Regions from separate parts of the Homo sapiens genome. Here region 2 is linked to region 1. The links are contacts of gene promoters, found by promoter capture Hi-C in human tissues and cell types (Jung and others, 2019). All regions are on one chromosome and are shown on one strand. Each heading gives the region's core, a stretch centred on a gene start or on the middle of the fragment in contact. The rest is flanking DNA. Distances are from core to core; before and after follow the strand shown. Region 1 holds the start of MOCOS (molybdenum cofactor sulfurase). Region 2 overlaps MOCOS (molybdenum cofactor sulfurase).

Region 1 (5,252 bases), core at 823-3,322:
TAATTATTCTGAGCCACCACTTAACCAGAGTAATTCTCAAATTGGCAGAAAAACTTCATGAGGGGAGAGGAGGAACGAGGAAGAGGTGATGTTATTTTGGTTTGTTTTTTCCCGCCCTCTCTCTGTCTTGTTTCTAGGAGAAAAACAAGTGGACATGTTCCAAGACTCCCAGCAGTGGGAGGGGCGTCAGATTAGTGCACAAATGTCTGCTTTAACCGTAATGTAGAGGAAATACAAGGAACTTGCATTAAATAAAAGATGCCCACAACACTACCAGACATACAGTAAGTGGTAACGAGTTCTGAGGGCCAGCCTGGCTGACACATCCCAATTTTGCATTTGAGGGGAAAAGTACTGTTCTCTGAGGGACAAGAGTGAAACCAGGAGGGGACCAGAACATAGCTCTACTTTCCCAGGGTAGCATTGAGGGGAGAGGTTGGCCAATAGTGGGCGTGAGAGATCACAGCTGGAGGAGATTTAGGGGATTAAGGAGGTGCGGTGCTGATATAATTACTCAGGTAGCCTTGAAGAGTTGCTTCAAAGAATGGAGAGCCTCCCTCCCCAGCACCTGTAGGCATTCATAGTACCCCTCTATTTCTGAGTGGTAGGAAATTTCCATAATTAATAGTTGAGAGAGAGAGAGAGAGAGAGAATACGAAAGAAGGGTGAGGAGCTGTCTCCAGCAGGTGACCCTGCGAGAGGGAAGGATGAGGAGTGAATAGAGAGGTTGGCAGAAGGCACCCCCGTCTCCCTCCTGACTCTCCCTACTTAGGAAGCCAGAGGAGACACACAGGAGGAGGCCACAGTTCTCACAGCCCCCAAAGGGAAAACACAGTTACCCTCCACAACACCAGGAAGTGACCCGAAGCGCTGAAATCAGCTACCCGAGTAGTGAAACCTAAGTCATGGTTGCTGTTCTGCCCCCAGAAGGGGAGCAGTCACCAGTTGTTCATCGCGACAGAGCAGATACACTCAAACCCCGGTGCCCTGTGCCAAGACGTGCCCACTTCACCTGCACACCCTCCTTGACCATCCGGCACGCGGCCCTGGGGCTTGATGAAGCCCTGCACCCAAAGTCCCTGGCAGAGGGATGAGTCACGAACTTGGGCCCTGGCAGCAGAGGGCTGGGTCGGCCAAGGCCAGATGGAGCTTGATTTGCAATTTCATCAGCCTGTTCCGCTCTGAGGAAAGGCACGATGTGATCTTGGTGTTGTCTAATTCACAGGCTCGCCCTGTTCTTAAAGGTGAAATTGCACTGTTTGCTAATTCTTCTAGTCCCCCAGAGAACTGGAGCTCAGAGGGATTGTTCTGACGCTGTAAGAGTAAGGAAAATGAGGTTTCGAAAATCAAAGCTGAATACAGGCTATCCCAGAGGAGTCTGCAGAGCGCAGCCTCGGGAGGCCCCGGCCAAGAGGCCTTGGCCTCCCGGTCCCAACCTGGCGCGCCGTCAGAGGTGCTGTCCCAGCCCGGGCGCTGGCGGTCCACGCACCGCTCCTACCTCGGGAGGACATCCGAAGGGTCACGGCCGCTGGACATGCTGTCTTTTGCAACCCCGGCCCCAGCAGGCCCTTTACAGTGAGGGGTCTCCCGCAAGAGAGGGCAAGAACCATCCTAAGCCCCGCTCGCGGAGGGCGGGAAAAGGGGAAGACGGCTAGGTTGGTCCTGCCCACCGGAAAGTCGGAAGAGTAAGAGTAGCAAGAAGCCTTGGGGCTGCAGGTGGGACCTCAGGGAGCCGTGTCTACTAGGAGGACGCGTGGACACGTCCCTCCTGGAGTTTCGATTCAAAATGCGCCCGAATGAGGTAGCGCCGCTCTCACTAGGAGCAAAAGATCCGTCCACGTCGGTTCCAGAAACCTCGTGTCCCCCAAGCCTGCCCGCCCGCCTCACCTGCCAGGCGGCTGAACTCGCGCGCCCGCAGCTCGCGCAGGCTGCCCGGGCCGTAGCCGTAGGCTAGCCGCGGTGCGCTCGGGTCCCGGGAACCCGCGAAGGTCCACAGCTCCCGCCCTGACTCCGCCGCCGCGCCGGCCATGGCCCCGGCTAGTCCATCCAGGCCGGCCGGGCCCGGGAAGTGCGCGAAGCCGGCCCCCGGCGACTCCGCCCCCGCCACGCCTCCCAGGCCTCCAGCCTCCCAGTCTCTCGGAATCCGCAGCCTAGGTGTGGCGCCCCGACCGGACTTTCACTTCTGGCCAGCCCTTTCCCCACCTGGGCGCGGGAGCGGGTGCCAGTCTTTAAACAACCTCTCGATGGGTCCCACGAAGATGTTTCCAGACCCTTGGAATGCCAAGTTCAAGTTTAGCTATGTCTCGCGGAGAGGCCGGTGGAAGAAGCAACGAGGTGATCTTTCCTGCTTGGCATCGGCATCCTGGAACCCCGCGACCCTCCTCCTCGCAGGGGTCTCGGGACCCTCACCCTCTCAAGCGGGAACCGGCGTCTGGCGGGGGCGGGGGTGGGGGCGTTCTCGGGTTGCTGCTACCCAGCGGGGCGTGTGCTTGCCGTTTGTTAGAATGCGGCTGACCAAAGGGTAGAAAAGGGGAAAGATTAGGGATCCACGAGGCTAATAAATTCTCAGTGGCTGCACACTTTCGGAACCGGGAAGCTCGGGGGCTTCCCCCGGAGCGGGCCCTGCAGCTGGGATCCAAGTGAGCTGAGCTTCCCCGCCCTCCCAACCGCGTCCTGGGCCCTACTTCCTGCCCTTGCCTCCCCAACCCTGCATCCCGCCCCGCACTTCCCGCACGTGGGTGTGGCCGGGCCCTCTCTATTAAAGCAAGAGTGCCCTAGGACAAAGCCGCCCCTGTCCCGGACAGAGTGGAATAAGAGCGCCTCCTTCAATCCCCACTCGCGCCTGCACCCAGAGCACCTGGGACACAGCGGCTCTGTCTTGGAGAACAGGTGCCTCAATAGGGAGGGCCTGGCCAAACCTATGCGCGGGAAGTGCGGAGCGGGATGCAGGGGTGGGGCGGCAGGTGCAGGTAGTAGAGCCCAGGCATGCGGTTGGGGGGTGGGGGGAAATCTCACGTGCGATCCCAGGTGCGGAACCCGCTGCTGGGAATGGGGTGGAAGCAAAACAGGTACTGCACGCACAGGCGAGGTGCCTCGTGGGGGAATCGAATGTCAGGGATGGTGGACAGTGCGGATGGGCGGCAGGTGCTGGGGCTCAGGGGAGATAACTCAGAGGCAGGCTCGGTGGAGAACCCAAGGCCGGCGACCAGGTGCAGGCGGCCCACAGGCCCTGGAGGCATACAGCGGGGGGACAAGGTGGGAAGGAGGCCTATGCCCCAAGAGCTCAACCTGTGCTGCATCCAGGCCAGCTGCCACCCAGGGTATGGGCCGCAGATGCCCTAGGATCCTTGCTGATGCATGATGCATACCGGTGCCCAGCGTGAGAGCCATGGGAAGGCAGCACGCAGCCCTGGCTCTCCCGCCCAGGCCCCTGATACCAGGCCAGAGAAAGACCCGCCACTAAGAGCTCATTTCCCCCTGGCCGGAGACCCAGGGGTCTGTGGACTGCAGCGCTAGGGTCCATGCCCAGGTACCCATATTCCTCAGTGGCCTCTGCCCACTGACCACCCCCGCTCTCTCCCTCACTGCTGAATGTCCAGGACCTTACTCGACAAACACCCATAGTTGTTCGAGGAGGAGTTAATGTACTGATGGATGGATGCAGGCATTTGCTCATTGACATCACTGCCCACCCCACCATCTGCTTGCCTTCTGGCCATGCTTCAAGCAGGCACTTTGGATACTGGACTGTCTTCTGTGAATGTGGCTTTGGGCAGCACTAATAACAAGAGCTAGTTACAGGGCCTCACTGTGTGCCAGGCACTGCACTGTGTACACTCTTACCTGTCCTGGTCGTTCAATGATTAAATATGCAGATCTAGGAGGTGGCTCTTACAGATGGGGAAGCTGAGGCAGAGAGAGGCAGAATAACTTGCACACGGGCACACAGCTAGAAGACAAGCTAGCACCTGGGAAGTCAGTCTCCAGAGCCCAGGCAGGGAAGTGTGTTTTGCTAACTCTCTGGTGTGAGCCACCGTGGTTCCCAGGGCCTCAGTTTCCCCATCTAAGTTGAGAGGGGTGAGTTGGTCCTCCCAGCAGCTGTTCAGTGTGTCACTCCTCACCCATCCTTTTAAAGCCCTGCTTCCTGGTGAGAGTCTCCCCTAGGCCAGGGTTTCCAGGCATTCATTTGCATGAATCCCCTAGAGAGCCTATTCAAAGGCAGGTTCTGACTCTTTGAGGTTCTGTGTTTCTAAGTAGCCCAGGTGATGCTGATGCCCCATTCACGAATGGCACTCTGAGGAGGGAGGGCCTAGGTCATTTCCCTGGAAATGTAAGGAGAACCTCTCCTCAAGGAGTTCTACAGCCAACTAACAAACCACCAGTCCACAGGGGTGCTGCTTCAGACAAGCTCGCCTAGTGATGGATTGGAATAGGCCAAGTCAGTGCAGAACTCCTGAAGGTTATTAAAAATCACGGATCTACCATTAATCCAGAAATACTTTAAAGCAGTTGGCTATGCCCATCTAGGGCACTGTGTGCTTGGGAGGGTGGATGTGAAGATAGCACCTACAGCTGAGTAGGAAAATGAACCTACACTAGCCACAAGGCAATGTGGGCTGAGTGCCCAGGCAGCACTGGTTCAGGATGCAGGTATAGAATTGAAAGAGAGGAAGCGGCTACTTCCTAGCAAGATATCCAGGGAAGGTAGCCCAAAGGAGGAAGCCTTTGAAGTGGGCCATAGCAGTGAGCCAGTCAAGATGGGAGGAGGAGTAGGGAATGTGAGAAACACTGGGAGTCTTGGCCTCTAATTGGCACCCTTAGGTGCATTTCACCAAGATTCCCTGGGCCGCTCCTACCAGAAAGAGACTATCAGAAGTCAGATTGCTCGCTCTCACCCTGCCTTAAGCAGAACCTCTATCCCCACCAAGGAATGTCTGACCTGGGAGGAGGAGTGATCTCCTGGGCCCTGTGCTATAGGCTGCCATGGCCACTTCTCACCTGGTCCAGCTGCTGGCCTTGGAGCTTCCAAGCAACCTGAGCTGGTCCATGCTGAGTTCCCCAGAGGCCAGCTTCTGCACCTAAAGTTTACAGCTAGGTAGGAAAACAGCTCTTCCAACTCCCACTTGCAACCCTTTCTCACCTAAGAACTTGAAAAATTATGTGTCTATGAGCCAGTTGGGCAGACAGGTGAGATGCCCTCAATTTTGTACTTTAAATCTCTCCCCGTGTGAATCTTAGTCCCTGGTGCACCT
Region 2 (5,252 bases), core at 1,147-3,646, 46 kb before region 1:
CAAAAGCAATGGCAACAAAAGCCAAAATTGACAAATGGGATCTAATTAAACTAAAGAGCTTCTGCACAGCAAAAGAAACTACCATCAGAGTGAACAGGCAACCTACAAAATGGGAGAAAATTTTCACAACCTACTCATCTGACAAAGGGCTAATATCCAGAATCTACAATGAACTCAAACAAATTTACAAGAAAAAAACAAACAACCCCATCAAAAAGTGGGCGAAGGACATGAACAGACACGTCTCAAAAGAAGACATTTATACAGGCAAAAAACACATGAAAAAATGCTCACCATCACTGGCCATCAGAGAAATGCAAATCAAAACCACAATGAGATACCACCTCACACCAGTTAGAATGGCAATCATTAAAAAGTCAGGAAACAACAGGTGCTGGAGAGGATGTGGAGAAATAGGAACACTTTTACACTGTTGTTGGGACTGTAAACTAGTTCAACCATTGTGGAAGTCAGTGTGGCGATTCCTCAGGATCTAGAACTAGAAATACCATTTGACCCAGCCATCCCATTACTGGGTATATACCCAAAGGACTATAAATCATGCTGCTATAAAGACACATGCACACGTATGTTTATTGCGGCATTATTCACAATAGCAAAGACTTGGAACCAACCCAAATGTCCAACAATGATAGACTGGATTAAGAAAATGTGGCACATATACACCATGGAATACTATGCAGCCATAAAAAATGATGAGTTCATGTCCTTTGTAGGGACATGGATGAAATTGGAAATCATCATTCTCAGTAAACTATCACAAGAACAAAAAACCAAACACCGCATATTCTCACTCATAGGTGGGAATTGAACAATGAGATCACATGGACACAGGAAGGGGAACATCACACTCTGGGGACTGTTGTGGGTGGGGGGAGGGGGGAGGGATAGCATTGGGAGATATACCTAATGCTAGATGATGAGTTAGTGGGTGCAGCACACCAGCATGGCACATGTATACGTATGTAACTAACCTGCACAATGTGCACATGTACCCTAAAACTTAAAGTATAATAATAAAAAAATTTAAAAAAATTGATTTTGGGGTACTGTTGAGAAGGCATGATTGGTTTTGAAATGTTAAAAGACATGAGATTTGGGAGGGGCCAGGGGCAGAATAATATGGTGTGGCTCTGTATCCCCATCCAAATCTCATCTCAAGTTGTGATCCCTAGATATCAAGGGAGGGAGGTGATTGGATCATGGGGACAGTTTCCTCCATGCTGTTTGCATGATAGTGAGTAAGTTCTTATGAGATCTGATGGTTTTATAAATGTTTGGAAGTTCCTCCTTTGCCCTTCTCTCTCTTGCCACCATGTGAAGAAGGTCCTCATTTCCCTTTGCCTTCCACCATAATTGTAAGTTTCCTGAGGCTTCCCCGGCCATTTAAAACTGTGAGTCAATTGAACCTCTTTCCTTTATAAATTACCCAGTCTCAGGTATTTCTTTATAGCAGTGTGAAAACAGGCTAACACAACAATACAAATGGACTAATGCTCATGGATGGCTAGAATCAATATTGTGAAAATGACCATGCTGTTAAAAGAAATATACAAATTCAGTGCAATTCCCATCAAAATGCCGTCATCATTATTCACAGAACTAGGAAAAAATGATCCTAAAATCCGTATGGAAACAAAAAAACAGCCCACTTAGCCAAAGCAAGACTAAGCAAAAAGAAAAATCTGAAGGCATCACATTACCCAACTTCAAACTATAATACAAGGCTACTGTTACCAAAACAGCATGGCACTGGTATTAAAGCAGGCACACAGACCAATGGAACAGAATAAAGAACCCAGAAATAAAGCCAAATACTTACAGCCAACTGATCTTCGACAAAGCAAACAAAAACAAAGTGGGGAAAGGACACCCTATTCAACAAATGGTGCTGGGATAACTGGCCAGCCACATGTAAAAACATGAAAATGGATCCTTATCTCTCACCTTATACAAAAATCAACTGAAGATGGATCAAAGACTTAAATCTAAGACATGAAACCATAAAAATCCTAGAAGGTAACATTGGAAAAACCCTTCTAGATATTGCGGTAAGCAAAGAATTCATGACCAAGAACCCAAAAGTAAATGCAACTAAAACAAAGATAAATAGATGGGACCTAATTTAAAAAGCTTCTGCACAGCAAAAGAAATACCCAGAAAAGTAAAGAGACAATCCACAAAGTGAGAGAGAATATTTGCAAACCACGCATCTGACGAAGGACTAATATCCAGAATTCTACAAGGAACTCAAACAAATCAGCAACAAAAACCAAATAATCTCATCAAAAAGTGGGCTAAGGACATGAATGGAAATTTTTCAAAAGAAGATATACAAATGGCCAACAAACATGAGAAAATGCTCATCATTACTAATTATCAGGGAAATGCAAATCAAAACCACAATGTAATACCACCTTACTCCTGCAAGAATGACCATAATTTAAAAATTGAAAAATAATCGATGCTGGCATAGATGTGGTGAAAAGGGAACACTTTACACTGCTGGTGGGAATGTAAACTAGTAAAACCACTATGGAAAACAATATGGAGTTTCCTTAAAGAACTAAAAGTAGAACCACAATTTGATCCAGCAACCCTACTACTGGGTATTTACCCAGAGGAAAAGAAGTCATTATATAAAAAAGACACTTGTGCACATATGTTTATAGCAGCACAATTCACAATTGCAAAAATATGGAACCAGCCTAAATGCTCATCAGCCAATGCGTGGATAAAGAAAATATGATGTGGGTATACAAACACACAAACACCATGGAATACTACTCAGCCATTAAAAGGAACTAAATAATGGCATTTGCAACAATCTGGATAGAGTTGGAGACCATTATTTTTAGGGAAGTAATTCAGGAATGGAAAACAAACATTGTATGTTCTCTCTTATAAGTGGAAACTAAGCTATGGGGATATAAAGACATAAGAATGACATAATGGACTCTGGAGACTTGCAGAAAAGGGTGGAGGGGAGTTGAGAGATAAAAGATTATCAACTGGGTGCAGTGTACACTGCTCGGGTGATGAGTACACCAAAATCTCAGAAATCACACCTAAAGAACTTACCCATGTACCTAAACACCACCTGTTTCCCAAAAACTATTGAAGTGATAATAATAATAATAACGAAGGAGAGGAAAATCAGTATGTTTAAGATATATCTGCATTCCCATTTTTATTGCAGCACTATTCACAGTAGCCAAGTTATGGAATCAACTTAAGTGTTCATCAATTAATGAATGGATAAAGAAAATGGTGTGTGTGTGTGTGTGTGTGTGTGTGTGTGTGTAATGGAATATTATTCAGCCATAAAAAAGAAGGAAATTATGTTATTTGCAGCAACATGGATGAGCCTGAAGGACATTATGTTAAGTAAAATAAGCCAGGCATAAAAAGACAAATACTGCATGTTCTCACTCATATGTGGGAATTTTTTAAGTTGATCTCATAGAAGTAAAGAGTAGAATAGTAGTTACCAAAAGCAGGGACGGGTAGGATAAAGAAGGGGATAGGGAGAGGTTGGTTAATGGGTACAAAATTACAGGTATATAGGAGGAATAAGGTCTAGTATTCTGTAGCACAATAGGGTGACTATGGTTAACAATAATTTATTAAATATTTCAAAATAGCTAGAAAAGAGGATTTTAAACATCCTCAACACAAAGAAATGATAAATATTTGAGGTGATGAATATGCTATATAATTACACTGATTTGATCATTACACTGATTTTATTATTACATATTGTATGCATGTATCAAAGTATCACATTGTACACCATAAATATGTACAATTACTGTATCTGTTCAAAATTAAAAAGGAATAACTGTAAATCAAAGCTCATTATTATGAAATATACAATAATTTTAAGGTCAGGCATGGTGGCTCATACCTGGAATCTCAGCAATTTCAGAGGCCGAGGCAGGTGGATCGCTTGAGCTCAGGAGTTTCAGACCAGCCTGGGCAACATGGCAAAACCCCATCTCTACTGAAAATATCAAAAATTAGCTGGATGTGGTGGCACATGCCTGTGGTCCCAGCTACTCCGGAGGCTGAGGTAGCAGGATCGCTTGAGGCTTGAGCCCAGGAGATGGAGGTTGCAGTGAGCTGAGATTGTGTCACTGCACTCCAGCCTGGGTGACACAGTGAGAACGTGTCTCAAAAAAACCAAAACAACAAAAAAAAGAATTTTAATGACACTAGAATTTGGTTGGATCAAGGAAGTGCCTGGGTCTTAGAAATCTTTTTATAACATGAAGACTTTCTTCATCATTATCAGTGCCACCAATAGTATGTGCACTGAGCAAGTTTTTTATGGAAGAGCCTGAATGGGGGCGATCACATCCAAGGCCCCAGGGACACTCTGTAAATTATTTTGAAAGATTTCTGTACTTCTGGATCATCCACATCGTGGGTCATTGTTCTCTAAGCTACCTTCAATCCTTTAGAAATAGACAGACAAGCATGAAGGCTCATTCTGTAAAGATATCAGCATAGAGTGTCAAATCTCATTAGCCTCTAGGAGTTAGCATCAAATTGGATTCCTGCATCAATCATCGTTATTGCTAAAAAACAAACAAACAAAACAAACAAACAAACAAAAAACTTACTATGTCACAGTAGAGTTGGAAAGCTAGTCTTTTTTCTATGTTATACACATCATATATATAAAGGAATGCGTAACATGCATAGGTAACAGTTCAAAATAACAATAATTAATGTATGTTAATATCCTGGGTACTTGAACTTGAACAAGAATAATTTAATAACAATGGGCTATAATCACTCTCACTGATAAAAACAGACACAAACATCACTAAAATATTAGCAAACCAAACCCAGCAATGTATTAGAAAGTCATTGCCAAGTGTACTTTTTCCTTAAGATACCAAATATATAGCTCAGTTATAGACAATCTAGTAATGTAATACATCATATTAATAGCTTATGGGAAAAAATATGATAAACAAATACAGAAAAAGCGTTCAGTAAGAAATAAATTTAGTCATGATAAAAATTTTGGCAAAATAGGAAAAGAACTACTTTAGCCTGATAAAATAAATCAATCAAAAACCTACAATAAACATCATTCTTATTTTTGAAACTTCAGAAGCATTCCACTCAAGTTGGTAATAAAGAAGAATGTCTTCCATCAGTGCTCCATTCCTCATTATATAGGAAAGATTAACAAATGCAGTAAGACAAAAATTAACAGA

What was found. The method cuts DNA at HindIII sites, captures the fragments that hold promoters and counts their contacts. A contact is called where the count stands out against the background at its distance.
Region 2: a contact is called between a fragment that was not itself captured here and the fragment with the promoter of MOCOS in region 1, in 1 of the 25 tissues and cell types used here (heart left ventricle).

The regions. Positions count from the first base shown.
Region 1 is chr18:36,184,317-36,189,568 of GRCh38, reverse strand. It overlaps MOCOS (molybdenum cofactor sulfurase), which reads right to left and starts at 2,072. Exons shown (of 15, transcript NM_017947.4): 1 at 1,888-2,072. The coding sequence starts at 2,029. COSMOC (cell fate and sterol metabolism associated divergent transcript of MOCOS) reads left to right here and starts at 2,134. Exons shown (of 2, transcript NR_134605.1): 1 at 2,134-2,334. RefSeq lists silencers at 1,970-2,159, 2,005-2,268 and an enhancer at 3,028-3,850. The HindIII fragment of the contact is 25,317 bases long and covers 1-5,252 here.
Region 2 is chr18:36,230,929-36,236,180 of GRCh38, reverse strand. The region is part of intron 9 of MOCOS (molybdenum cofactor sulfurase); the gene reads right to left. Among named protein-coding and RNA genes, the nearest start is that of MOCOS, 46 kb to the right of the region's middle. The HindIII fragment of the contact is 3,959 bases long and covers 417-4,375 here.